3 separate regions of the Homo sapiens genome follow, and all the other regions are linked to region 1. The links are contacts of gene promoters, found by promoter capture Hi-C in blood cells and fetal thymus (Javierre and others, 2016). All regions are on one chromosome and are shown on one strand. The core of a region is centred on a gene start or on the middle of the fragment in contact, and the rest is flanking DNA. Distances in the headings are between cores, read along the strand shown.

The links. Contacts are between HindIII fragments. The CHiCAGO score rates a contact against its expected background, and 5 or more counts as called.
Region 2: a fragment that was not itself captured here is called in contact with the fragment with the promoter of CCDC13 in region 1 in 1 of 17 cell types (erythroblasts); the score reaches 5.9 in erythroblasts.
Region 3: a contact is called between a fragment that was not itself captured here and the fragment with the promoter of CCDC13 in region 1, in 15 of 17 cell types (erythroblasts, total B cells, megakaryocytes and 12 more). The highest score is 16.8, in erythroblasts.

The regions. Positions count from the first base shown.
Region 1 is chr3:42,771,873-42,774,712 of GRCh38, reverse strand. CCDC13 (coiled-coil domain containing 13) reads left to right here and starts at 1,460. Exons shown (of 16, transcript NM_144719.4): 1 at 1,460-1,537. It overlaps CCDC13-AS2 (CCDC13 antisense RNA 2), which reads right to left. Exons shown (of 2, transcript NR_122070.1): 2 at 1,078-1,508. RefSeq lists an enhancer at 1,280-1,449 and a silencer at 1,580-1,739. The HindIII fragment of the contact is 4,325 bases long and covers 1-2,840 here.
Region 2 is chr3:42,898,875-42,901,714 of GRCh38, reverse strand. No RefSeq gene overlaps it. Among named protein-coding and RNA genes, the nearest start is that of ZNF662, 5.8 kb to the left of the region's middle. The HindIII fragment of the contact is 8,974 bases long and covers 1-2,840 here.
Region 3 is chr3:42,879,077-42,881,916 of GRCh38, reverse strand. No RefSeq gene overlaps it. Among named protein-coding and RNA genes, the nearest start is that of CYP8B1, 4.6 kb to the right of the region's middle. RefSeq lists a silencer at 558-607 and an enhancer at 646-940. The HindIII fragment of the contact is 4,409 bases long and covers 1-2,840 here.

The DNA of each region.
Region 1 (2,840 bases), core at 211-2,710:
TCCTTAATTTTCTCACAGCATGTTCTTATTTTAATGAAAACCTGGCTTTCTGCTAGGATCCATGCTTTCCAGAAGCCCTCTAAGTAGACCTGGCTATTCCTTTTCCTATGCCACATAGTCCCATCGTGGTCATGAGGCAAACGAATGATACTCCCCACTACACACACCATTTAAAAAAAACCCTAATCCTTTGAGGCTCACATCTACCTGAATCCTACTCTTTATCCTGTCTCTCTTTGCTGCCACCTGTATATTATACGTCTCCCACCCTCAGCTCACCAGGCAGCAATTGGAGACCAACGGGAAAGATCCATTTTTCCTTTATCAGGAAACTTCGGGTTTATACCTGCAGTGCTGATGGCAGTCTAGTGCCGTATCTTATGTATGCATGTCTATGGGATGGGTATTCATTCACCTTATGAGGAAAAAAAATAGAAAAACAACTGCCAAGGTTTTCAAATTATGAAGTCCTGGATAAATATTTGGGCAGGAGCTGTGGCTCACGCCTGTAATCCCGGCACTTTAGGAGGCCAAGGTGGGCGGATCACCTGAGGTCAGGAGTTCAAGACCAGCCTGGTCAACATGGTGAAACCCCGTCTCCACTAAAAATAAAAAAATTAGCCAGGTGTGGTGGCGGGTGCCTGTAATCCCAGCTACTCAGGAGGCTGAGGCAGGAGAATCGCTTGAACCTGGGAAATGGAGGTTGCAATGAGCTGAGATCGCACCACTGCACTCCAGCCTGGGCGACACAGCGAGACTCTATCATAGATAGATAGATAGATTAGATAGATAGATAGATAGAAAGAAATCTCCCTTGAATCATCTTTCCTAGAAATTTGCCTCCCACCCCCATATTGCCCTGAAATATAGTAGTGTCTTACATTGGAAGGTGCCATTTAAAAAAAAAAAAACAAGTATTTTCCTTTATGAAAATAAACGATGTTCATTATTTTAAAAATTCTCTAAAGTGTAAAAATAAAAACACAGCACTGCTATTCCACCACCCAAATATAACCACTTTTAATATTTCTATTTCGGTCTTGTTTTAGTGCCTAGTTTGAAATAAACACAACTTTATTTATTTAGCATTGCTATATTGCGTCCTGCTTCCTTCACTCACCATCATAACATGGCCTTTCCCCACACTGTTTTACATTTTTCAAATATATCTGAATGGCTACTTTAAATTTCATGGTGAGATCGTTCGCTTTTTAACTCCCCAACAGGAGAGCGGAATGGGCATCTCTGTGCAGAACGTTTGGTCCACAAAACTTTTTTAAAAATATACTCCAGAAGATTTAAAATCTCCAGCGCACTCGAGATCGTGCTCGCTTGGATCCAGCCCAGCGCGCCATCAGCGCCTCTGTCACTTTCAGAACTCTTGGCGCCCCCTCGGCCCCCGTAGAGTAGCGTTGAAAACGCGCAAGTGACGTCGCTTGTTTCCCTGGTGACGGTTGCCAGGGCAGCGCGTGTCGGCGTCCGGAGGAGGTGACCTAGCCGCCGCGGTCCTAGAAGGGAGAAGTGGAGAGAGACCGCTGTAAGTGCCGGGGAGAGCGGAAGGGCCCGGGCCGGAGCTGGGAAAGCCCGCAGCTGCCGGGGGCGCGGAACCGAGCCCGAGCGCAACCCCAGCCCGAGCGCGCTGCCACTGGCCGGGCGCTCACCGCGTGCTGGGCGCCCAGCGAGGACTCTTCCCCTTCGTCCTTTGAATCTTCACACACAGCCCTCTTCTAACCCAGGCAGACGCTTATTTTCCATGCAGTACATGGGTTAATGAGGCGCAGAGGGTGGGTCGCCTGCCCCAAAGTCATAGCGTAGATGGCACAGTCAGAACTCGAACTCAGGTCCGCCTGACAAGCGCTGTTTGCTGGGCCTCTGCCACTGGGCCCTCTCGCACCGCACTGAAAGATGCGACCCGACGGCGTGCACTTCCGCATCTCCCAGTTCCCCTTCCAGGCCCAGCCCCCACAGGACTGGGGACTCGCAAGAGGGAGTTCCCCTCCAAGCCCGGAGTCCAGCCCTGAGAACCAGAGCATCACCCCGCTCCCATCCCAAACCCATCCCTACGAAGATGCTAGCAGTGCACAGAGCGCCAAACTAGGCATCCGTGGGCGGCCTCCCCACACCTCCAGGCCCCTAGACTGTTGTTGAGAATACTCGAAAAGAACACAGTAAAAGAAAAGAAGAAAGAGAAGGAGAGGGGAAGAGAAAAACAATGAAAAAAGTGGCAGGCCGATGGGGCAAGGGGTCTCAATCCTTCCTCACTGGTCCCTGTCACCTATGGTCCCATATCCTGTGGGATCTTGCTTCCTCATAGGACTCCAGAGTGCATGCCACTCTTCCTACTCCCTGGCTCTAAGTCCTACCTGAGCCAAGAGTTCTTTCCATGCAGCTCTAGCCTTTACTTTATTTTTTTTATTATTACTTTTTTTTTTTTTTTTTTTTTTTGACGGAGTCTCGCTCTATCGCCCAGGCTGGAGTGCAGTAGCGCGATCTTGGCTCATTGCAACCTCTGCCTCCCAGGTTCAAGCGATTCTCCTGCCTTGGGCTCGAGTAGCTGGGATTACAGGCGCCCGCCACCATGCCTGGCTAATTTTGGTATTTTTAGTAGAGATGGGGTTTCACCATGTTGGCCAGGCTGGTCTCAAACTCCTGACCTCAGGTGATCCACCCACCTCAGCCTCCCAAAGTTTTGGGATTACACGCATGAGCCACCACGCCCGGCTTAGCCTTTACTTTTAAAAGAAAATAGACTTAAAGCAGATTTTTAGAAGCATTAAACAAAAAACAGTTCCTTTATGTATTCCGTATTCCCATTTCCTCTGTTGTTAACATCTTACACA
Region 2 (2,840 bases), core at 157-2,656, 130 kb before region 1:
TGACCTTCCTTCTGAAACCACCTTTGCAAAAATTATAACTGAGAAAATTATGACGGTGAAAGAGATCTGAATTAACCGACTCCATCTTGCTTTTAACCTCCAAGCTGTCATTGTTCATTCCTGGGCACAGGCCAAACTAACTTTGGGAGGAACTTAGTTTATAATTTAACTTTGAAACAAAGATGGTATCAGCCCTTTCCCAAACAAACCCCCTTCCTGCCTGGAGACTAGACTGCCCTTGCAGGACTAAAAAATTAGCCACAAGATTAGAAATTATGGTTTAAGAGTCATGCAGCTGGAGGCTGGAAGATTCTAAACCTCCCCAAATTGTTCCTGGGGATAATATCACTCTTATAAAACCTAAGATCAGTGCTTGAGATGTTTTGCAGAACCTGCACGCAGTGGATCAGCTGGCACCACCCAGACTGGTAAACTGGCCCATCTGGTATTGTGGCCCCCACCCAGGAACTGACTCAACACAAGAGGACAGCTTCAACTCCCTATGATTTTATCTGTGACCCGGCCAATCAGGACTCTCCACTTTCCAACCGCCTACCCACCAAATTATCCTTAAAACCCCAACCCCCAAGTTTTCAGGGTAATTTGAGTAATAATAAAAACCCCAGTTTTCCATATGCTGGCTCTTTATGAATTAAACCCTTTCTTTATTACAACTACCATGTCTTGATAAATCAGCTGTGTCTAGGCAGCAGGCAAGGAGAACCTGTTGGGCGGTTCACCTCTGCCCTGACAACCCAGAGTCTAAGATGTTCTCTTCTTACCAATCAGGGTTGTCGTTCCTCTCATTCCACAGCTACGTGATCAATGTGACTAGTCTCTGCAACAATCACTCCACCTATTTCCCAACTCTCCTGTGTCTTACCCACACCATACACTCAGACTCATCTCTAGTTAGTTCAGTAGTTCCTTTCTTACATAATTTGTAGCATCCTAGAATGTCTCCTACCCTCTGAAATGTGAGCCATGCCAAGACCACCTTAGGAGTTGCCTTCTCATATTTATGATTTATGATCACTATAATCATTATCTATAATTGCCCAAATCCAATTAGCACAGCTGGGTGGCAACACACACACACACACACACACACACACACACGGTGTCAGTCTCCCGCCCCCTGGCTCTTATTTCCTACTGTCAAACTGCAGTAGTTCAGTTTCCCAGGGTTAAGCATAGGAGGGGAAAAAATAGAGAATAATTAATTATGTGCTTATGTCTCTTGCAGTCAGGGCCTTCTCCCACTCCTGAACCTTGTGAAAGTGTTACTGACAGTGAGTCTGCAAACAGTGGCGAATCCGCACTGATCCCAACCCTTGTCTTCTCAGAGGAAAGATTTCAACTGAAAGACCGAGGCAAATTTTAAAGCAGAGGCAAAGGTTTATTAAAAGAAGCAAATCACACTTGGAAGAGGGCCAAGTAGGGAACTTGAGAGATCAAGTGCCCCCCTCAGCCTTTGGCTCAGGATTTTTATAAACTGGCTTTTGGTTCCGGGGTTTTTCTTCTCCTCCCTTGATCCCTCCATTGGGGTGGGCTGTTGCTCAGTTGTGACATGTGCAGTGGCCTGCTAGTACTTGGGAGAAGCCACATGCACAGTGTGTTTACTGAGGTTGTGTGCATGCTCACTTGGAGCGATTTTCCCTTACTGGTTGATCACCTCCAGAGGAAGGTCATATACCAGTCAAACACCACCATTTCCCCCCCTACTTTTGCCCCATGCTTAAGACCAGATCAGGGGCTGGGCACGGTGGCTCACGCCCAGCACTTTGGGAGGCCAAGGCAGGTGGATCATTTGAGGTCAGGAGTTCAAGACCAGCCTGGCCAACATGGCAAAACCTTGTCTCTACTAAAAATTTTAAAAAATTAGCCAGGTGTGGTGGCAGGTGCCTGTAATCTCAGCTACTGGGGAGGCTGAGGCAGGAGAATCACTTGAATCCGGGAGGCAGAGGTTGCAGTGAGCCGAGGTCGTGCCACTGTACTCCAGCCTGGGTGACAGAGTGAGACTCCACCCCAAACAAAACAAAACAAAACAAAAACAAACAAAAACCTGATCAGGGAATTGTGATTTGCTGGCTCCAGATGTTTTCTATCTGTTGCAGAACTCCTCTCTGTCTTGGTCCCAGTCATGGCCACTTCTCATTTCAGAGGGACAGTTTTATGATAGCTTGACCATTACCCAATGAGTGCCTGCCATTTCCAGAACCCTCTCTACTGCCACCTCCTGGGTCAAGTGAATGGCCTCTAGTAGCTCTAAGATTTGGGGCCCCTACTTAGTAGGAGTATCCCAAGTTGCTGGGTACTCCCTTTCCTTCCAGATAGTGGCTTGGGCATGAAGCACCAAAAAGGCATATTTGGAATCTGTATAAATGGTTATTCTTTTCCCTTCCCCTAGTGTTAGGCCTGTGGTTAAAAGATGAGTTTTGCTAGTTGTCCTGAGGTCCCCAAGGATAGAGCTTTAGCCTCTGTGTACCCTGCATATATAGTTTCATTCTGAACAAAACTGCTCCCATCTGAAAACCATATTTTGACCAGATTGTCCAAGGGCTGATCCTTTAAGTCTTCCCATCTGGCATAAATTTGGTTAAGTATCTCACAACATGAATGTGTTGAGTCATCCTCTCCTGGTAATGGCAGTAAGGAGGCTGGGATGAGGGTGGAGCACCACTCAACTGTTACCTGTGGGATTTCTAACAACACTTGATACTTTAGCAATCTGTTGTCAGTGAGCCATTGTGGCACTTTTATGTCCAGTAAGGGGCTTATTTGTTGGACATCAGGAGCTGGATTGATTGTATCATGGTGATTTTGAGGACCTCCTCCAG
Region 3 (2,840 bases), core at 166-2,665, 110 kb before region 1:
GAGGGGGTTCCTTCCCCTCCAGGAAAAACAGAAGGAACCTGGAAAGCTAGAAAGAAACAAAAAGGAGCCATACATAAGCCCTAAGTGAAACGATTATTACCTGCTCTAAAGGCAGGGTGAAATAATTTCTCCCCTGTATTTCCATTTCAATGGTACTACTTACTGCTGGGGGCGAGGCAGTGAGCAAGAGGTGGCACATACTGGGGGAGCAGTCAATATCATCCAGAATTAGAAAAAGGGGCAAACAAGACTCAGGGAAGAGCTAGTGCATCCGGACTAGAGAACCCACAGCGGAGAACCCCAGTAAAGGAACCACAGCAGATAAATAGAATCCTCAGGTCAGTGCCCAGTTGCTCAAAATTCTGGGCCATATATAGAATGAGAAGTCATGACATCAGACAGGAACATGGAACTACTAGGGCCCAGTGTAAAAAACTCAATCCACTGTCCTGCCCACCATGGAATGTGCAAATGAGGTTAGCAATAAAGGAGCTAACCCCCAAAACCCCCCAGGACAACCAAAATGATGCTCTTGCCGGGCTTATGCCGTGAAAACTGCCAGGGGCGTGGGCCGAGGGGTAGTGGTGGGTTCAGCGCGCGAGTCGGAAACAGCTGCGGTGGGGAAGGAAGAAAGCAGCGCCATCAGCACGTCCTCCCGTTGGCCCGGAACCACGCCCTTACTGGGGGCTCAGCCGCCGAACTGACACTCACCGCTCCTGAGCACAAAGAAGGTGCGAAGTGCCGCAGAGCGACCGCCAGAGGTCAGCAACACACTGCCTACTCCCCGCCGCGCCTCCCGGAGACTCCCTCGCTGAGGCTTCGGGGGCCGGAAGTGCACCCGCCCCTTTCCCGAGCGCCCGCGGGCCCTCTGGCTGTCCCGGAGGCCGCCTCCGTGTGTCTTTGGTCCTACCTGGCCCCCTAGCCCACCATCGTAACCCCGCCCCGGCCCCTGACAGTTCCCGGACCGAAGGGGCGAGGAGGGGACGTGCCGCCCGCTCCCGGTGTTGGCTTGAGTTGCTGGTCCCCAGCCCCTCGGGAGGGAGAGGAGGGCAGTCCCGTGGGCTGACTTCCCAGGGGCAAGCCAGTCTCCTCCCGAGGAAGAGCCCGTATTCCCTGCCTGTCCATCCGGCAGCCCTGCGTGGCCCCCGTGGGCTGGCCCCGGACACAAGCGTGGCTGGGCCGGCTGGCGTGAGAGGGGTTCAGTGCCACCGATGTGTCAAAGTCCTAACCCGCACAGAGCCTGCCGGTTCTGCACCCTGTGGAGATTCTTCCCCCTTCTCCGAGTGCCCTGGGCTCATTGGCCCCAGGGTGGATATGCTCTCGGTACCTTGGGACCACCCTGCTGCATCCCCTGACCAGCACCCCTCTTCGGCCGCTAGCACCTCCACCACACACAACACACATTGACTGGGTCTTGTGGTCCTCCAGGCCTCCGCTGAATCAGTGTGGCCCAATCAGTGTGGCCTTCCTGACTGCCACCTCCCTTCATGCTCTGCTCTTCTTTGCAGCATTTGTCACAATTACAGCCATACCGCGAAGATATTGCGGGTTGGGTTTCAAACCTCCATAGTAAAATGAGTCGCACGAATTTTGTTTCCGGGGAATATAAAAATTATGTTTAGACTATACACCATTAAGTGTGCAAAAGCATTATATCTAAAATACATATATATACCTTAATTTTTAAAAAAAACTTTATTGCTAAAAAATGCTAATGATCATCTGAGCCTTCAGTGATTCCTGTCTTCACCCTGGACTGATCAGGGTGGTGGTTGCTGAGGGCTGGGGTGGCTGTGACAATTTCTTAAAATAAGACAACAATCAAGGTTGCCGCACCAGTTGACTCTTCCTTTTAGGAAAGATTTCTCTGTAGCATGGAATGCTGTTTGATAGCATTTTACCCACAATAGAACTTTTTTTCAAAATTGGAGTCAATGCTCTCAAACTCTACTGCTGCTTTACTAACTTTATGTAATATTCTAAATTCTTTATTGTCATTTCAACAGTGTTCCCAGCATCCTCGCCAGGATTAGTTTCCATCTCAAGAAACCACTTTCTTAGCTCATCCGTAAGAAGTTACTCCTCATCCATTCAAGTTCAATCAGGCGATTGCAGCAATTCAGTCACATCCTCTGGCACTACTTCTAATTCTAATTCTCTATTTCCACCCATCTGCAGCGACTTCCTCCACTGAAGCCTTGAACCCCTCAAAGTCATTCATGAGGGTTGGAATCAACTTCTTTCAAACTCTTGTTCATGTTGATATGTTAACCTCCTCCCATGAATCACAATTGTTCTTAGTGGCTCTAAAATGGTGAGTTCTTTCCATAAGGTTTTCAATTTACTTTGCCCAGATCCATTAGAGGAATCGCCATCTACAGCAGCTATAGCCTTACGAAATGTATTTCTGAATACTAAGACTGAAAAGTTGAAATTACTCCTTGATCCATGGGTTGCAGAATGGATGTTGTGTTAGCAGGCATGAAAACAACATTCATCTCTTCGAACATCTTCCTCAGAGATCTCAGGTGCATTGTTAATGAGTAGTAATACATTGAAAAGAATCTTTTTTGTGAGCAGTAAGTCTCAGCAGTGGGCCTAAGTAAACCATGCTGCAAACAGATGAGCTGCCATCCAGGCTTTGTTTTGTTTGTTTTGAGACAGGGTCTCACTCTGTCGTCCAGGCTGAAGTACAGTGACATGATCTTGGCTCACTGCAGCCTCAACCTCCCAGGCTCAGGTGATCCTCCCACCTCAGCCTCCCAAGTAGCTGGGACCACAGGCATGCACCACCATACCTGGCTAATTTTTGTAGAGACAGGGTTTCACCATGTTACCCA